Linked DNA regions of Homo sapiens: region 2 is linked to region 1. Evidence: promoter capture Hi-C in human tissues and cell types (Jung and others, 2019). All regions are on one chromosome and are shown on one strand. The core of a region is centred on a gene start or on the middle of the fragment in contact, and the rest is flanking DNA. Distances in the headings are between cores, read along the strand shown. Region 1 holds the start of OTOR (otoraplin). Region 2 overlaps MACROD2 (mono-ADP ribosylhydrolase 2).

Region 1 (4,155 bases), core at 1,043-3,542:
GCTTGGTTATCTCATTACTTTATTTCTTCACCTTCAAATGTCCAATAATGGCTTCACGTTAGCATTAGCCTGATTTTCTAAGTTGTGATAGCTTGAATGTCACATTTTGCTTTTTGTTTTTAATCATTTTATCCTGCTTTTGGGGATCTGTATATGCTCCCCAATGGGGAGTTTTTGCAGTCCCCATTTCTTCAAGTGCCTCTTAAATGACAATTGTCTTTTAACTCTCCTATGCTGAGGGCTGGTTTGAGACTGGAACAGTCCATAAAACAGCTGCGCAATCAGGATTAAGAAGATTTAATCAATGCTTTAGTTTTCCCAGAAATTTAGACCTTTAGATTGATTACAGGGGAAAAATTGGAAAGGCATTCTGCTTTCAAAAATAATATCGAATTCAATCTTTCCTTGATGTGAAACAGGAAATAAATGATTTATTCTAATTTGTCAATTCCAAGTTGACAACAATGAATTGAAATAGCATTGAACCATGATCCCTCTGGTAACCTTTAGATAGGATGGTTCAAAATGACCACTTTAGGACAGGTGCGGTGGCTCATGCCTGTAATCCCAGCATTCTGGGAGGCTGAGGAGGGCGGATCACTTGAGGTCAGGAGTTTGAGACCAGGCTGGCCAATATGGTGAAACCCCGTCTCTACTAAAAATACAAAAATTAGCTGGGCATGGTGGTGCACACCTGCCAGCCCAGCTACTTGGGAGGCTGAGGCAGCAGAATTGCTTGAACCCTGGAGACAGAGGGTGCAGTGAGCCGAGATTGCACCAGTGCACTCCATCCTGGGTGACAGAGCAATACTCCATCTCGGAAAAAAAAAAAAAAAAAAAAAGCAACAAAAAACAAAAAGACCACTCTGGCATTTGCTGTGCCTCAGTTTCCTTGTCTATAATGAAGGTATGAATAAAACAGACTTTCCAATCAGGACCAGCTATATAAAAGATCCTCCCTTGAAAGTCACACACACATACACACACAGCCACACACACACACTCACACACAGCCACACATACCCACACCCATACCCACACCAAAACTCTTTTACATACACACACAGATGCACTCAAACCAATACAACTCTATCACACACACACATATACCCAAAACAAAAAACCTTTTTATTATATTTTGCCTTACCCATTTATCCCTTGGGAAATTGTATTGCACAAAATTATTTAGTAAGTTAAATTCTTGTCCCTCATTTTATGAGGTTACGACTTTGGGGTTGGGGGAGAAGGCACTGCTCCGAAGTCACATCATCAACCAAGGTGGAGAAGGCATCCTGAGAGGATCTCTATTCTAGAAGCAATGGATAAGAACAGGGGAAGGGCCACCTTATGGGAGAGATGCCAGCCTCAAACACCCTATAAAAAGCAGTAACTTACTGTCTGTCTCTTCTAATAGAAAGCAACACTTGGGGCCAAAATATTTTTTTTAAATTTACTGCTATATCTTTAGTGCCCAGAACTATACCTGGCACAGTAAGTGCTCAGTAAATATTTGCTGAATAGACGGAGCTAGGGACTGGCGGTTCCACTTTGGTGCCTCTAGGAGTGCTCCTCTCCCCATGGGAAACATGCTCAGAAGCAGGAAGTTCCAGGTAACATAAACTTGTAACTTCACTCTCTTCTCTTTGACCTGTCACCCTTGAGCATTTGAGACTGAATTGCAAAAGTCTTAGAGAGAAGAGGTAGGGGAAAGATTGACCTATTTTTCCCAACCCACCCATCTCTTTCCCCACTGGTAGGGTCTAAATGGGGCATCAATTAGTATGTTAGAATTCATCTCTAGCCTGGGACAGGCATGCCTTCTAAGAATCCTATCATGAAAGATTTGTAAGCATAAGAATCTTTCATTTATCTATTACGTAAATCCAGATTTATTAATTGAATTTGTTTAAATCAAATTATTTGTGCTATAGATCTCACATTTTCAACAAATTCCTACAACTAGTATGTCTTTGCTCATAAGCTGAAGGAAAATTAGGGGTGAATTAAAACTAAAAATGGTTTGAAATTCTCATAGTCCTCTCAGCAAAGCCCTACTGATTGATACAATAGACCACTGCTAAAGCGGCTTTAACAATAGTGGACCATTTTGGATATTATCTGTGTATAGAAAGACACAGAGTTTGACTCTGTTTGGAAAATCAGACGCTAAATAGCCCCTGAAGCCGAGCAGCCTGTTATGAAAACGGAGGGGTGGTAGGCCCTTCTAATTGGCCAGGGTATTTACCCAGAGCTCTGGCTTTCACATAAAAGGCAGGAACCACTGAAGTCAGTCCCCGCTTCCAGTCAGAGTTCAAGTTAAAACAGAAAAAAGGAAGATGGCAAGAATATTGTTACTTTTCCTCCCGGGTCTTGTGGCTGTATGTGCTGTGCATGGAATATTTATGGACCGTCTAGCTTCCAAGAAGCTCTGTGCAGATGATGAGTGTGTCTGTAAGGACTTTTTTATGCTTTTCATTATCTTTCTATTACATAATTGAAAATATATCCACTAATAGCATAAAATCGAATTATACTTTGAAGTGAATCTTCTCCAATGTGTATGTTATCAGCTTTGTTTCTTCTGGTCTGCATGTTTGGTATCTTACTACGGAGAATTCACTTGGCTGAGTTTTGTTGCAGCTTTAATATCTTGGCTGTCTTCTTTCTCTTGGATAGACACCAGCTATGAACTGGGAATTATCAGTCACTCTGATTTTCTAGTTTTTCTAATATACATTGCCTTTTACTGTTATAAAATTCAGGAGCCTAAAATGTAATCATTTAAATTTTTTTTCTTCCAGATACTATTTCTCTGGCTAGTGCTCAAGAAGATTATAATGCCCCGGACTGTAGATTCATTAACGTTAAAAAAGGGCAGCAGATCTATGTGTACTCAAAGCTGGTAAAAGAAAATGGAGCTGGAGAATTTTGGGCTGGCAGTGTAAGATAATTTAAACACCTATTGACGAATATTGCTCTTAACCTTTCCTTGATTACCTACCTTCAACCTATTTTAATGCTTAATACTAGTTGTTAAGAACCATGTAGTGATTGTAGATGGAAATGCAAAAATTCAGGTATATTTGCTATTGCATTTTAAAGAAAGAAAGATCAATTTCGTAACAAAACCAAATGTAGGTTAATGTGATATTTTGGTAAAAAAAGAGTCAAATACATGGGGGCTTAAACATCCCAAAGAATTTGAATCTTATCCGAAAACGTCTGAGAAGATTTGCCAAGTAGAAGGCATGTGTGTTGGCAGTGAGTCTAAGTATCAATATTCTTTTAGGAAACTTTGCACCCTAATTAATTCGAAAGAATCAGCGTTCTTCAGTTAAAATATACAGGGGCGGTCCCTGGGGAGGGATGAAGCAGGGATGATTTTCTGTCCTCATCTGCAACCCTAAAGGTAAGTTCTAAATTAATGAAGGATTAAATTTAAAGCCATTTAAGTCTGTTCATTTGAATTGTTGAAAACTGAGAAATTTGCATCATTTAAAATAAGTGTCTACAGTACTTTAAAAAAATGTACTGTCTTTATATATTTATTTATGGGTTCAAAAAAGATTTCAGGCAACTCACAAGATTGCGTAAAATAAAGTCATGCTAAAGTAGCGAAATAAGACTGGGCCACTAAACAGTAGATGCACAATTCCTGCGGGTTAACTTAGTGCTCCAAGTAAACTTCGGATTTGCCGCAGCGCCCCCTGGACCCCGGAGTGAAAGGGAGGTATTGGCAGCTATGATTCTCACTATCAGCAAAGAGGACGCCTGCGAGTTTCTCAGAAGACACTCAGCATCAGCTTTTTCCTGATTGCTATTCTTCTGGGCACTTAGGTTTATGGTGATGGCCAGGACGAGATGGGAGTCGTGGGTTATTTCCCCAGGAACTTGGTCAAGGAACAGCGTGTGTACCAGGAAGCTACCAAGGAAGTTCCCACCACGGTAAGCATCTCAAAAGTGACTAGACAAGGACTCAGATCTTGGGGCAATGTAGGCCGGTGTTAAAAATGCATCATGCAACTTACAAGTTGTATAGAACAAAGCCTCCAACTTTCAGTGGCGACTTTTCTGAGATAATGAGGTTTGGGGGACCATTTATAACTACTGTCAAAGTTGAAAGATGAGTAAACTTTCTCTATACCACCCCCTTTT
Region 2 (4,155 bases), core at 843-3,342, 1.9 Mb before region 1:
TGTAAGACAAAGAAACATGATCTTTGTAATGGCTGTTGGCCCATCTCCAGTTGACACACACATGCAAGTTATATGGGCTGGGTCACTTGAGGTTTCCCATTTCCCATAAAATAATGTTTATCATGGCATGGTGGGGCTTAAAATTGGTTCCTAAGTAATTTTTGCTCCAGTCTCTTATAGTTGTCTCTGAGTATGTCCCCAGAACTGACAGTGATTTGGAGGCATTGACCATTTAACATGATACTGGTGGACATTGATCAGATGGCCAGTATTTGGGTAAAACTTATATTTGGAAGAGGAGAACTGATTTTTGGATATTAGGAAAAAGAGAGCCCCCTCCCCAACTTCACCAACACTGCTGAATTCCGATTATAGGTATAAGCAGGAATTTTCTAAAATTTTAGATTAGGTTTTACCAGAAATTCTCAATATTCTACTGCTGAATCTTTAAACTACCAGACACCTTTTGCTCTCCATTTTCTCAAATTGGAAAGGGGTGATGAAAATGGTAAAATGTCTCTTCCCTCTTCCTTTGTTCTCAGGGATGTTTGTTACTCATCCTTCTACTTGCAGCTAGTATATAAAACATCTTTTAGAGTCTCCATGTCTTTTTTTTTTTTTTCTTTTTTGAGATGGAGTTTCACTCTTGTTGCCCAGGCTGGAGTGCAGTGGTACTATCTCCGCTCACTGCAACCTCTGCCTCCCAGGTTCAAGCAATTCTCCTGCCTCAGCCTCCCAAGTAGCTGGGACTACAGGTGCCTGCCACCATGGCTGGCTAATTTTTGTATTTTTACTAGAGACGGGGTTTCGCCATGTTGGCCAGGCTGGTCTTGAGCTCCTGGCCTCTAGTGATCTGTCCATCTCAGACTCCCAAAGTGCTGGGATTACAAGCGTGAGCCATCACGCCTGGCCAGAATCTCCATCTTAAACTGGCTTCCTGAAAGAGTAAATTGATCAAGCTTAAAATAATTTTCTGCTGTTCTTTTTTTCCAGTAGGGACAAGGTCTTGCCATGTTGCCCAGGCTGGTCTTGGGCTCTTGGACTCAAGCAATCCTCCCACCTCAGCCTCTCAAAGTGCTAGGATTACAGGCCTGAGCCCCCATGCCCAGTCTCCTGGTGTTCTTGGAGGGTTTTCCTCTGTAGGTACTTGTTCATTTGTGTCCAGAGAGACTTGGGAGACTATAATCAATACTCTTATCAGCCAGAACAACATACATTAAAACTAAAAGAAAAAGAGGAAGGTTGAGTTAAACTGGCCCTAAAAATATTGATGTTCTCTCATTGGAAAGGTTGACAGGTTCTTTCAAGGAAAGGTCATTTCAGGAACATAAGAAGTCTTTTTCACTTTACTCTTTGCTCTTATCTGAAAGCTCATCACAGTGTTCTATAATATTTTATCATGATTCTGATAGGTTTCAGGATGAAAAATGGAATTTGGCTTAAAGAGTGCAGGGCTAGTATGAGGACACTGCACTCTGAAATAAGTCAGAGTGATTTGTCTTCATCAGATGTTCCATAATAATACTTAACTTTTACTGTATGACGTGAAACGAGTGTTATTATTTCAAAAAATGTATTTGTAAATTTCAGGTCAAAACTAAGAATAACTCTAAGAGTGTAAAAAATAACATATTTTAATGTTAAATTTTTTTATTGCTTACACTCTAAATATTTTCCTTTGACCAATATGAGAAATATTCCCATTGATATCTCTGTGCATTTAAACAATTGTGAAAATAGAGAACTCAGTTATAGTTAAATGACTGATGTTCTATAAGATAACTTTATCACATAGATAAAATAATGAAGAAAAGAAATTAAATAGGCATTCCTCTGAGAGTTTCTCTGACAATCAAATCAGAGGTTTTGATTGAAAAATTCCCTCATTAATGTAGATTGAGTGAATGAACTAATTACTTTGTAATTTGTTCTAATAGAAACTTTCCACTGAGGTGAGGGGCAAGGGGAAACCCCACCGTCTTCACTGTCATGGAAAAGATAAAGAAGTAATGGATCTTTGAAATATTTCCCCTAACTTTCAAAACCTTAGCTTACAGTGTTGGAGACTACCTGAGATTACCTTTCAAGTAGATGTTTTCAGGAAAAAAAAAAGAATATAGAAAGGCAGCCCTTGCCACATACAATGTATTTGAATGACACTACAATGCAGCTTTTGTAGGTGATCAGATAGAAGTGTCTTGCTGTTCTATTGTATTTCAGCTTGAATATCCTTCATCAAGGCAGTTACTGCAAAACAATGTTGTAAATGAAAGTTAAAATGACATTATTATAAGTAAACTTGAGTTTTCTTTTATTACCTGTCATTTATAAGGTGGTAATGCACCACGAAAGGAATTGCATATTTTGGGTAATAAAGAAATATTCTATGACCTTGGTATTACTTATACTAAGATTGGTTTTAAGACTTTTATTTTGGGTACTATAGAGTAGAGACCATGTCATTCCCCCTTTCCTACCCCATTTAGACATTAAGACATTCTTAGTGATTTTTTTATAAGTACCTGTCTTCATCCATTTTCTGCTGCTGTATAACAGAATACCACCAACTAGGTAACTTACAAAGAAAAGAGGTTTTTTGTTTGTTTGTTTGTTTGTTTATTCACGAGTCTAGAGGCTGGGAAGTCCAAAATTAAAGGGCTGCATCTGGTGAGTGCCTTCTTGCTGCATCATGGCATGATTGAAGGCATCGCATGGCGAGACCGACCGTTCTCTAGAGAGAGGAAATGTGGCCTAACTCCCTTCTTTTATAACTGTCCCACTTCTGCAATAATAAACCCACTCTCATGATAACAGCCTTCATCCATTCAGGAGGGTGCTGCCCCCTGACCTAATCACCTCTTAGAGGTCCCACCTCTCAAGATCACAATGGCAATTAAATTTCAACATGAATTTTGGAGGGGACATTCAAACCATAGCAGTACCTTTTTTCTGAAGTCTCCCCAGAGCAGTAATCTTTAGTCCTGAATATTTCACTGAAACACTTACATGTAGAGGTATTTTCTTAAAATTGAGACCTGTCTTTATTAAAAATTATTTATAGTGATACTCTTTTCTGTTCTGTTTACAGTATATCTGAGGAAATATAAAGTGTATGCTATTAGGCTTTGTAATGTCTTATTATTAAGGCAGATATAATAGCTTTAAAGAGAACACTGATGGATAGCTTTTTAGACTCAAAGCAGATATTTGTGTGCGATTAAAGTAGAAAATGATACCCTACAATTGTTGAGACATTTTTGATGTTCTTTGGCTTTCCACACTGATCTTTTTCTATCTCTACAGTTAGTTTGGTTTTGGATTAATGTTTTTCATTCAGATATAGGAAATCAGTAGCACTTGAAATGCCATCCATAGTACACTGAAGTCTTCAGTGAAACAACAGAGTCCAATATTCAATCAGAAAAGAAAATGAACTCTAGGAGTCATTTCCAGGAGACATGTCTGAAGTCAAACTTGGGCTTTATTTCCTGTCTTCAGAGGGTGCACTTTCATAGTTGTTTTCTATAAGGTTCAAATCCCAGAGTGTATGTGCCACTCTCTCTCCATTTATACCATAAACAAAAATTCAGGTCTTTATCATTTCACACCCTGGCTGTCAATGTGGCTGTCTCTCCAGCTTCTGGTCTGCTAGCTCCCCTTCTACCATCCCCAACTCTTATTCCCTGGCTTAATTTTTATAAAACAACTATCTGATCATCTCATTTCATGTTCATTAACTTTTTTTTTTTTTTTTTTTGCTGCCTCTAGGATATAATGTCTAGGCTCTTTGTGTTATGACTGGGGCTAGGAAAGAAAGCCATTATCTAACTGAATGGCCTCTGAAGGAAATATTAGAGCTTTTCTATAAATTTATTTTTCTCATCCTTCTAAATCTGCATGTTTGTATATATTTTATTATATATATATACTTTACCCATACAGTAGTATATGCATATAATTGATGAATAAAAATACATATCTTGGGATATGCTCAAAATACATTTTACTAAGAGAATGCATACATGTGGCAGTTATAGATTATTAATGTCACTTTATTTTTCTCTTCTTACTTTTCCACTAGGTGAGCAAGGCAGGTAAATTAAATCTGTCCTGTTGATGGACTGAAAACTAACCTCAATACATTCTCTCAAATAT

The links. Contacts are between HindIII fragments. The study calls those that stand out against the background at their distance.
Region 2: a contact is called between a fragment that was not itself captured here and the fragment with the promoter of OTOR in region 1, in 1 of the 25 tissues and cell types used here (lymphoblastoid cells).

Annotation. Positions count from the first base shown.
Region 1 is chr20:16,746,066-16,750,220 of GRCh38, forward strand. It overlaps OTOR (otoraplin), which reads left to right and starts at 2,293. Exons shown (of 4, transcript NM_020157.4): 1 at 2,293-2,451; 2 at 2,802-2,941; 3 at 3,838-3,945. The coding sequence starts at 2,337. The HindIII fragment of the contact is 9,309 bases long and covers 1-4,155 here.
Region 2 is chr20:14,839,426-14,843,580 of GRCh38, forward strand. All of the region lies in intron 5 of MACROD2 (mono-ADP ribosylhydrolase 2), which reads left to right. Among named protein-coding and RNA genes, the nearest start is that of MACROD2-AS1, 88 kb to the right of the region's middle. The HindIII fragment of the contact is 7,476 bases long and covers 1-4,155 here.